2 separate regions of the Homo sapiens genome follow, and region 1 is linked to region 2. The links are contacts of gene promoters, found by promoter capture Hi-C in human tissues and cell types (Jung and others, 2019). All regions are on one chromosome and are shown on one strand. The core of a region is centred on a gene start or on the middle of the fragment in contact, and the rest is flanking DNA. Distances in the headings are between cores, read along the strand shown.

Evidence for each region. The method cuts DNA at HindIII sites, captures the fragments that hold promoters and counts their contacts. A contact is called where the count stands out against the background at its distance.
Region 1: a contact is called between the fragment with the promoter of GRM2 here and a fragment that was not itself captured in region 2, in 2 of the 25 tissues and cell types used here (dorsolateral prefrontal cortex and mesendoderm cells).

What each region holds. Positions count from the first base shown.
Region 1 is chr3:51,704,826-51,709,088 of GRCh38, forward strand. It overlaps GRM2 (glutamate metabotropic receptor 2), which reads left to right and starts at 2,243. Exons shown (of 6, transcript NM_000839.5): 1 at 2,243-2,342; 2 at 4,023-4,263. The coding sequence starts at 4,159. The HindIII fragment of the contact is 8,284 bases long and covers 1-4,263 here.
Region 2 is chr3:51,535,148-51,539,581 of GRCh38, forward strand. LOC105377085 (a long non-coding RNA gene) reads left to right here. Exons shown (of 3, transcript XR_940835.3): 2 at 639-840; 3 at 1,012-1,522. It overlaps RAD54L2 (RAD54 like 2), which reads left to right and starts at 3,572. Exons shown (of 23, transcript NM_015106.4): 1 at 3,572-3,768. RefSeq lists an enhancer at 3,346-3,640 and a silencer at 3,529-3,928. The HindIII fragment of the contact is 7,506 bases long and covers 1-4,434 here.

The DNA of each region.
Region 1 (4,263 bases), core at 993-3,492, 170 kb after region 2:
TCAGGGTATGATTGTACCTGAGCATGGCTGAGTCTGTGTGGATGGCTGTGTGCCTGTGTGAGTGTGTGTGTGTGTGTGTGTGTGTGTGTGTATTGCTGTGCTTTGTGTCTGTGTATGGTTGTATTATAGGAGCATGTGAGGCTGGCTAACAGCATCTCTATGGGGGCTTTGTTCATGTACAACTGTGTGTGGCTGTGTCTGTACAACTGTGTGTATGGTGATGTTCATGACGTTCATGTATAAAGCTATGTGTTTTGCTATGTGTCCACATATAAAAACACACATTTGCTATGTGTCCTGCAGCCGTATATCCATAATTATGGCCATGTATGTGTGGACATGTCTTGGTGGACAGCTATTTGTGGCATGTCCTTGTGTGAGCAGCTGTATATATGTGGCTGTGTCCACATGTGCAGCCGTGTGTAGACATGGTCACATGTTCTTAGGGGCAGGGGTGTGCCCATGTGTATTATGGCTGTCTACAAGTATAGCTGTGTGTGGTTGCATGTTTATGTGTACTATGCATGTGGCCATGTCCACATTTACAACTGTGTAAGGCTAAGTGTATGTCCTCATCCGTGTGCACACAGCTGGGAGTGGTGGCTGCCTAGCTGTGTGTAACTGTGTGTCCATGTGCTGCGACTGTGCAGCTTGTTTGCTGCAGGCCACATCATGGGCTTTTCTGGCTGATGCTGTACACAGCCATATCTGTGTTTACAGCCCTGTGCCTTTTGTGAGGCTGACTTGTTGAGCAGGTTGGGAGTGTGGCTAGAAGGAGTGTGTGACTCCTCACCTCAGCACCCTCCTGCTGTCAACCCCTCTGCTCCAGAGGCCTGGCCCATTGCTCACCTACCCCAGGGAGCTGTTGCTCTGAGGCAGCCAGAGAGGGTGAGAGCAGCCGGTGGCAGAGTTGGAGGTGGAAGACAGCATGTCTGTCTCCCACTGCCACCTTGTCTCCTGTTAGTGATGGGGCTTGTGTTTGTTTGGGTTTTATGTGTCTGTTTCGTTTCAAAGCTGTATTCTTTCCACAGCAGCAGGACATCAGGTTTCTGTGTCCAGGGAAAAAGCTCGTCCTTGGTGATCACCCCCGCACCCCTACGGACTGCCACACGCACATGTGGGTGTGTGTGCCTGAGGGGTCTGGGCTTGGCATGTTCATTAGCATGTATCTGAGCTGGCCTTGCTTCCACTGACACCTGTGGAAGAAAGGGCAGTGTCGGGAATGTGTGTAGGGATGCCATGCCCCTTGGCACTTGTTAGTGTGTGCACATGTTAGGGGCAGATAGCACAGGCTCTCTAATCCCCATTCCTTCAGCACAGTCTGGCACTACAGCTTATCCACTACCCTCTACCCAGGGGCGTCCTTCCCCATCCTGCTGTGGGAGGGAAGAGTCAAGAGAATCTTCTCAGAGCTGTCCTCCCTCTGCTTGGGCTCCAGCTCTCACTCCCTCCTACGCAGCAGCCAGTTCCAGAAGCCTTTCCCTAGGCCCCTCCCCTCCCAGATGCCCCTGCCATCCCTAACACTCCCTCAGGGTTGACCCTAGTACTTGGTTCTGCAGCCCTTCCTGCAGGTTGCTCTCTCCTTGCTTAAATACCCTTTTTACATGGGAGTGGGTGGCAGGTTTAAAGGGCATCTGCAGGAAGGAAGGGGAGGCCCCATTCTCCTCTGACCTCTCCCTTCCCCCAATCTTTTCCTCATAGTGACTCTGGCTCCAGGTCTCAAAAGTGGCAGAGGACACATGCCTCCAACTCAGGCCTGGGATGTGGACCCAGCTGAAATCGCTGAGTGGGGAGAATAGACTCCACCCGTCTCCCACGCGCCCCTTTACCTATCCCCCAGAGGCACCCCTTGCACTAAGGCCAGCTCCTCCACTCTGCAGTAGCACTATGGGCACCTGTCGGGGCGCAGTGACCTTCCCCACCCCGTGCCCCGTGGCATCCCCCCGCCCCCCACCTATGCTCTCTAGGTGGTAGTCTGACTATGGGGCGGAGTGGGCCACGAAGCACCCGCTCCAGCGCAGAGCGAGAGCGCTCGGGGATTCAGCACCACGAGGCGGACAGCTCCAGGCCCTGAGGTCCCCAGAAAAGCTGGAGCGCGGAGTGTCCAGAGGAGGCGGAGGCTGGGTTGGGAGCAGGAGACCTGGCGTCTGGAGGAACGGAGGAGGGGCTGGGGGCGGGCCGGGGCCGGGGGCGGGGCGGGGCGGGCCGCGATTGAAAGCGGCGGGGCGAGCGGGCGGGCGGAGAGCGCAGAGCCAGCGAGCCAGCGAGCGAGCGAGCGGGAGCCGGAGCCTCGCGCCCCCCGCTCCACTCCGATTCTCTCCGCGCCAGAGCCAGCGCGCCAGGTAGGGTGAGCCGGTGGTGGTGGTGCCGCTGCCGCTGCCGACCTTTTTGGCCCTTACCTCACGTCCCAGGGTCCTGCGGGCCCTCAAGTTGTGGGGCGCCCGCGCTGCTGTGTCCAGACAGCGTTCCCTGAGAGCTCCGGGAAGCGGGAAGACAGCCCCGGGCGTCCCGCCTTTCTTCTCCAGAAAACGCACGCCCCACATCGCACTCCCCCGTTCCTCCTGCTCCAGCGTCCTCTGGTCCTTCTTTCTGTCTGTGCCTCCGTCTTTGTCTCAACCTCTCAGGCTTGCTCGCTCCCTGCCCAGATTTTGTGGCCCAGGCTCCTGGCTGTCTGACTCCGGGTTTCTGTCCCCTTCCTGCCTCTGAGCTTCCGTCTGGGCCTCCCCTCTGGGAGACTTGCGACTTGACCAGTTTTGGCTTCAGCCCCCATCTGGGTCCCTGTCTCCATCTGTGCTGGTCTTCCTCCCTGCTTCTCCCTCGCTTGCCTGGGTAAGCTGCTGCTTTCCTGATCCCCAGAGGAGCCCAGTGCCCCTGCCCTGGGGAGCTGAGGGGGCAAAATGAAGAGGCTCAGCCTCCGTGGCCAGCACATGGGGTCCTTGAGTTAGTTGCTGCCCTTCTTCAAACTCAGTTTCCTTTCCTGTTCTGAGGAAAGAGGTATGTCCCTCTCCCAGCCTTTCCAAGCCTGTGTGATTGTGAGAGCCTTTGTGGGGTGTGTGTTTGGGAAGGCAACTGGGGTACAAATGATTGGACGCAGTGGGGAAGAGACAGGGAGGGGGTCTCTGAGGGCCATGGCTAGGGTGGGCAGGGCCCTGAAGCTGAGGATGGGGAGATTGGAAATGGTGACTTTCTCTGCTGGGTCGGGAGTGAAGAGAAAACAGAGGCACAAAATCTCAAGCAGTGTTCTACACAGAGCTAGAGAGTCCCGCACTCTCACCCTCAGCACTGTTTGGAGACTCTAGCCCCCAACCCTGACACACACATACGTGAACATCTGCTTGCCCTGTTGACTTAGGACCTTGAGCCACTTGGGTACCCTCCCTGAGGCCAGCCATTCCACCTTGCTGTCTCATTCCCAGGGCTTAGTGTCTCTATTCCTTCCTCAGTCAGCAAACTGTGGGGATGGCTTTTTAAGAACCAAAGGTTAGAACCCTTGGGTGTTCACATGGGCTCCAGTCTCCCCACGGGTTGGAGACTGTCCCTTAGAGATGCTTCCCTTCCTCTTCCCTGGTGGGTCCTGAGACAGCAGTTCCTTCTCTCTGGAAATCCAAGGCTCAGGATGGGGACCTCTGAGTTTGTGACTGTGACATAGTCTGTTCCAAAGGTATTGACCTCGGGGTCCTGGGAGGTTTGTGCTGTTCTTGGACACCCTTTGAATTACAGAGGGGTCAGCATTGGCTGGGGTCTCCTGTCCTCTGCCTGGGACTTCACTGCTTGCATCTCTCCCCACTGCTGAGTTTGGTAGGGGAATATGGCCCATCTCTCACCAAGCTGAGGCCAGGGCTGAGAGACAGGTCCAGGGGAGTCCCAGGAGCTTCTCAACCTACTTAATGACACCATCCTGTCCCTCCCTGGCTTTTGAGTACCTAGGAAAGGGGCTCGTGGGGAGGCAGAGTCAGAAGGGGCAGCTGCTCTCAGGTTCCACTTTTCCTGGTCTGTTTTTCTGTCTTTCTATCTCTCTGCAGGAGCTGGGTCCCTTCGCATCTCTCTTCTTGTCTGTCCTTTCCTGGTCCCTGTTTCCTCCTCTCTTTGCCTTCGCTGCTTCTAATCTCATCCCCTGGAGACCCAGGTCTGCGGGACCCATCCATCCCCTTTGGGGCCATGGGATCGCTGCTTGCGCTCCTGGCACTGCTGCTGCTGTGGGGTGCTGTGGCTGAGGGCCCAGCCAAGAAGGTGCTGACCCTGGAGGGAGACTTGGTGCTGGGT
Region 2 (4,434 bases), core at 294-2,793:
GAATGGGGAATTTTATGGCGTAGCAATTATGCTAGGCCGTCATTAGATACTGGGGTCGATTTTTAAAAAATCTCCTAGGACATTATAATCTGGGTGATGAGTGGTATACAAGCAGAAAAGGTAAAAATATCCCAAGAATGGGATGACTGTTGAAGAAAGCAATACAACCCTTTGTCACCTTGGAATCTGGTTCAGAGTGATCATGGCTTTGGCATTCAGAAGTGAGGGGGGGCCATTAAGTGTGGCTGGTGGGTGCAGGATTGATCTAACTCTCACGGAATAAGCAGGAGGTGAAACAGATAAAATGAAGAGGGTGGCTTGAACCTGGGAGGTGGAGGATGCAGTGAGCCGAGATCACGACACTGCACTCCAGCCTGGGTGACAGAGCAAGACTCCATCTCAAAAAAAAAAAAAAAAAAAAAAATGAAGAGAGTGTTTTTCCATGTGTGTTTTCATGGTGATGAAGAAAACCTTGTTCTGGTTTCTGATTAACCAACAAGTCCCTGGTGAATTTTGCCTAATCCCAGAAGGGCAGTCCCAGATCTTTTAAACTCACTTAAAGGTATAGCCAACAATAGGCAGGTGTATGCATAAATCACTCTAGGGACTTCCCCTAATAGAACCAAATCTTTCTACAGGTGAATTTTGGGGTACCATGAATCTCAGAGGTTGTTGTGCGGGCATGACATCATCCAAGTAGTCAGGGAATTTCTAGAAGGGTGGGGAAACAGATGTTACAGAAGGACAATGCCATCCTGGGAGGAGGGAATGGAAGAGGCTTCCATCACCAGGGGAGCTAGCTCTGGCCTTTGTGGCTCCTACTTTAGTGACATGAGAAAGGTAAGTGTCTATGTTTTGGTGGTTGTGCCTTAAGTCTTTTAATTGGGGGCCAGGGGATGGGGGTGGGGGGATTAACAATAGGAGTGTGTGTGTGTGTGTGTGTGTGTGTGTGTGTGTGCGTTTAAATATATCTGGCCAACCTGACTGGTTTCTTTCTCCTCTCTTTGGTAGTCTCTGGGGCTTTCATGTGAACCTGTTTCAACTCCTGAGGCCAAATATGCTCTATGTGTCACCCGGAGAGTCCCAGCTAAGAGGCCAAATGAGTAAAATGCAAGACATGAAGCTGGGAGGGGTCGGAATGCTGATCTGACCTCAGGCTGCTGGAGAGAAGTTAACTAGCTTTTTAAAATTTTTATTTATTTTTTTAAGAGATAGTGTCTTGCTATATTGCCCAAGCTGAACTTGACTTCCTGGGCTCAAGTGAGCCTCCTGCCTCAGCCTTCTGAGAAGCTGGGACTACAGAAATGTGCCACTGCACTTGGCTGGAACCAGCTTTTGAGGCATTCTTTGCCTCTGAAGAACCTAGGATGAAGTTCCTCTTACCTGAGGAAGCGGAGAAGCTTCCAGAGGCTTTGACTGTGCTGCTTTCTAACCCATGAGCCTGCTGTTTCCAGAAGGAACACTCTATTAGTCTGTTCTCACACTGCTATAAATAAATGCCTGGCACTGGATAATTTATAAAGAAGAGGTTTAATTGGCTCATGGCTGTACAGAAAGCATGATGCTGGCATCTGCTGGGCTTCAGGGGAGGACTCAGAAAACTTACATTCATGGTGGAAGGCGAAGGGGGAGCGAGCACCTCACAAGGCTGGAGTAGGAGGAAAAGAGAAGTGGGGGGAGGTGCCATACACTTTTTTTTTTTAAGACAGCCTCACTGTTGCCCAGGCTGGAGTGCAGTGGCACAATCTCAGCTCACTGCAATCTCCACCTCCTGGGTTCAAGTGATTCTCCTGCCTCAGCCTCCCGAGTAGCTGGGATTGCAGACACACACCATCATGCCTGGCTAATTTTTGCATTTTTAGTAGAGACAGGGTTTTGCCATTTTGGCCAGGCTAGTCTCAAACTCCTAACCTCAGGTGATCCACTTGCCTCGGCCTCCCAAAGTGCTGGGATTATAGGTATGAGCCACCGCGCCTAGCCGACACCATACACTTTTAAACAACCAGATCTTGTGAGAACTCACAAGAAGAGAACCAAAGGGACAGTGCTAAGCCATTCATGAAGGATCTACCCCCATGATCCCATTACTTCCCACCAGACCCCACCTCCAACATTGGGGATTACAATTCAACATGAGATTTGGGTGGGGACACAGATCCATATTAGATAGCAAAGTGCCTTTTGACAGGCAGAACCCTTTCATTACCTCCAGAAAATAATATAAATGAAAAATCAGGCATATATGTGTCTCAGAAGCCAAGGGGGTATGTAAAAATGGGAAATTTGAGAACACCTGAAAATTAGGATTTTTTTTGGAACACCTTCTGCAGATCTAAATTCCCATCAAGAGTTAGCTCCAAAAATAACCGCATCTGGTATCTTAGAGGTGTGAAGGCCTAGAAGAAAAGGAAAGTGGGGACGAGAAAGGAATTGCTATCCTCTTGATTTTATGAGTAAAATACAAAGCCTTCAAAGAAAGATGCACTTTTGTAATTTAAAACATCACTTTGTCGGCCAGAGGTGGTGGCTCACGCCTGGTGGCCCAGCACTTTGGGAGGCAGAGGTGGGCAGGATCACCTGAGGTCAGGAGTTCGAGACCCGCCTGCCCAATATGGCGAAACCCTGTCTCTACTAAAAATGCAAAAAATTAGCGGGGCGTGGTGGCGGGCGCCTGTAATCCCAGCTACTCGGGAGGCTGAGGCGGGAGAATAGCTTGAACCCAGGAGGCGGAGGTTGCAGTGAGCCAAGATCCCGCCACTGCACTCCAGCCTGGGCGACAAGAGCGAAACTCCTTCTCAAAAAAAAAAAAATCATTTTGTCAACATTCACTTATTGGGAAGAGGAGAAGAGAACCTGAGGCTATAGTGGAGAGAGCCGTTACAGTCCCATCAGTAACTGGAGCCCACATGGCCACATGGCAGTAATTCCCAACTTGAGGAAGGAGAACCTGCACCCTTAACCTCCACCTGAGTGTCAGCAATCAAGAAAGCCCCCTTTTGCCTCTGCTTCTCTTCCAGGGAATTCTGAAGACAGCTTCACTTAACAGGAAACAGGATGGTAGGTGGGGACCGAGGGTGAAAAAAGAAGAGTTACATGATGCGCATAATTTCAAGGGCCCTTGAGGGCTGAGCACAACCTATGTTGGAGGCAACAGTAGCAGCAGCATTGGCAGGATCAGTAACGATCGTACCCCGGTGTAGAGCTCCCTATCTCTGAGCTAGGTATTCGCATCACCTCATTCAATCCTAACAAGCCGCCTAGATTATTCCCAATGAGAAATGAGGAGAAACTGAGGCTCAATTGAGATGCTAAATGGCTGGCGAGTGCAAAACCATTCCGTTGGACCCACCCCTAGAACCATTCTCAGGCAGCTTCTGGCTTGGGATTTCTGTGCGGCATTCATTCCAGAAACGGTCCCATCCAGGCAGGAATCGCCGTACACCCGGCGCAGGGGAACGGCCTTCAGTCGGCTCTCAGCGGAACTTTCCTCTCCGCGGCGCGTGTTCCCGTCCGTGCGGTCGGGCGCGCGGGCCGGGAGGGGGACGCTTTCTGGCGCGGACCGTGAGCGGAGGCTGGCGAGCGCCGCCGCCGGTGGAGACCGACGCTTGGCCAGAGCCAGCCCGCGGCGCCCGGGCCTGGCCGGCTGCTTCCCGCCTCAGCCGCCGCCCCCGCCTCCGCCGCCGCAGACTTTGCCTAGGCGGGCGAAGCTGAACGTGAGGTCCCTCGGCCCTGCGCGGTCCGGCGCGGCCCGGAGCCGCGGCGCAGGAGGTGAGACGCCGGTGCCGGTTCCTCGCTCCCGGCCGGGGCCGCCGGGTCCCGCAACAATGGGGACCGACTGGAGACGCGGCCTGGGCCCCTGCCATGCAGTGGCTCGGGGCAGCTAGATGGACCCAGCGGCCCGGGCCTTCGGGGCACGGGGTCCCCCACCCGGGAAACTCCAGTGGCCGGAGGCTTGGCGGGGGTCTTGGGCCTCGACCCGGGGCCTCAGTGGCTTGATATTTGAGGATTTCGTAGCCGGGGAAGGGAGTCGTAGGGACACGGAGACTTAACTGTTGCCCCTCTGCGCTTTTGGCTCTGGATGCTGGCGCCCCGGAGGATGACCAGAGCGCGGTGTGGGGTTGGGAAAGTATTTGGAATTTTAGGGGCTTCTGTGTGTCTAATCCCTAAGGCGCATCTGGATGCGTCTCCCCGACCCCCTCTCCTGAGGTCTGGGAATTTGGCAGACTGGGGTCGGGCTGGGGCAGAAGAGGCATTGAGAGTTTAGCTTCCCTGAGGTAACTGGTGATTAGTTCCTGGAAAGGCAGGAGCTCAGCTGGGCACAAGAGAGTTAAGCAGAGAGCTGGATCCTCCGGGGCCCTGATGCACCCTGACGAGGAGTGGTTTTCAGGCAAGGAACTTATCACAGGAGTGAGTAGTGGCACACGGTGAGTAGTG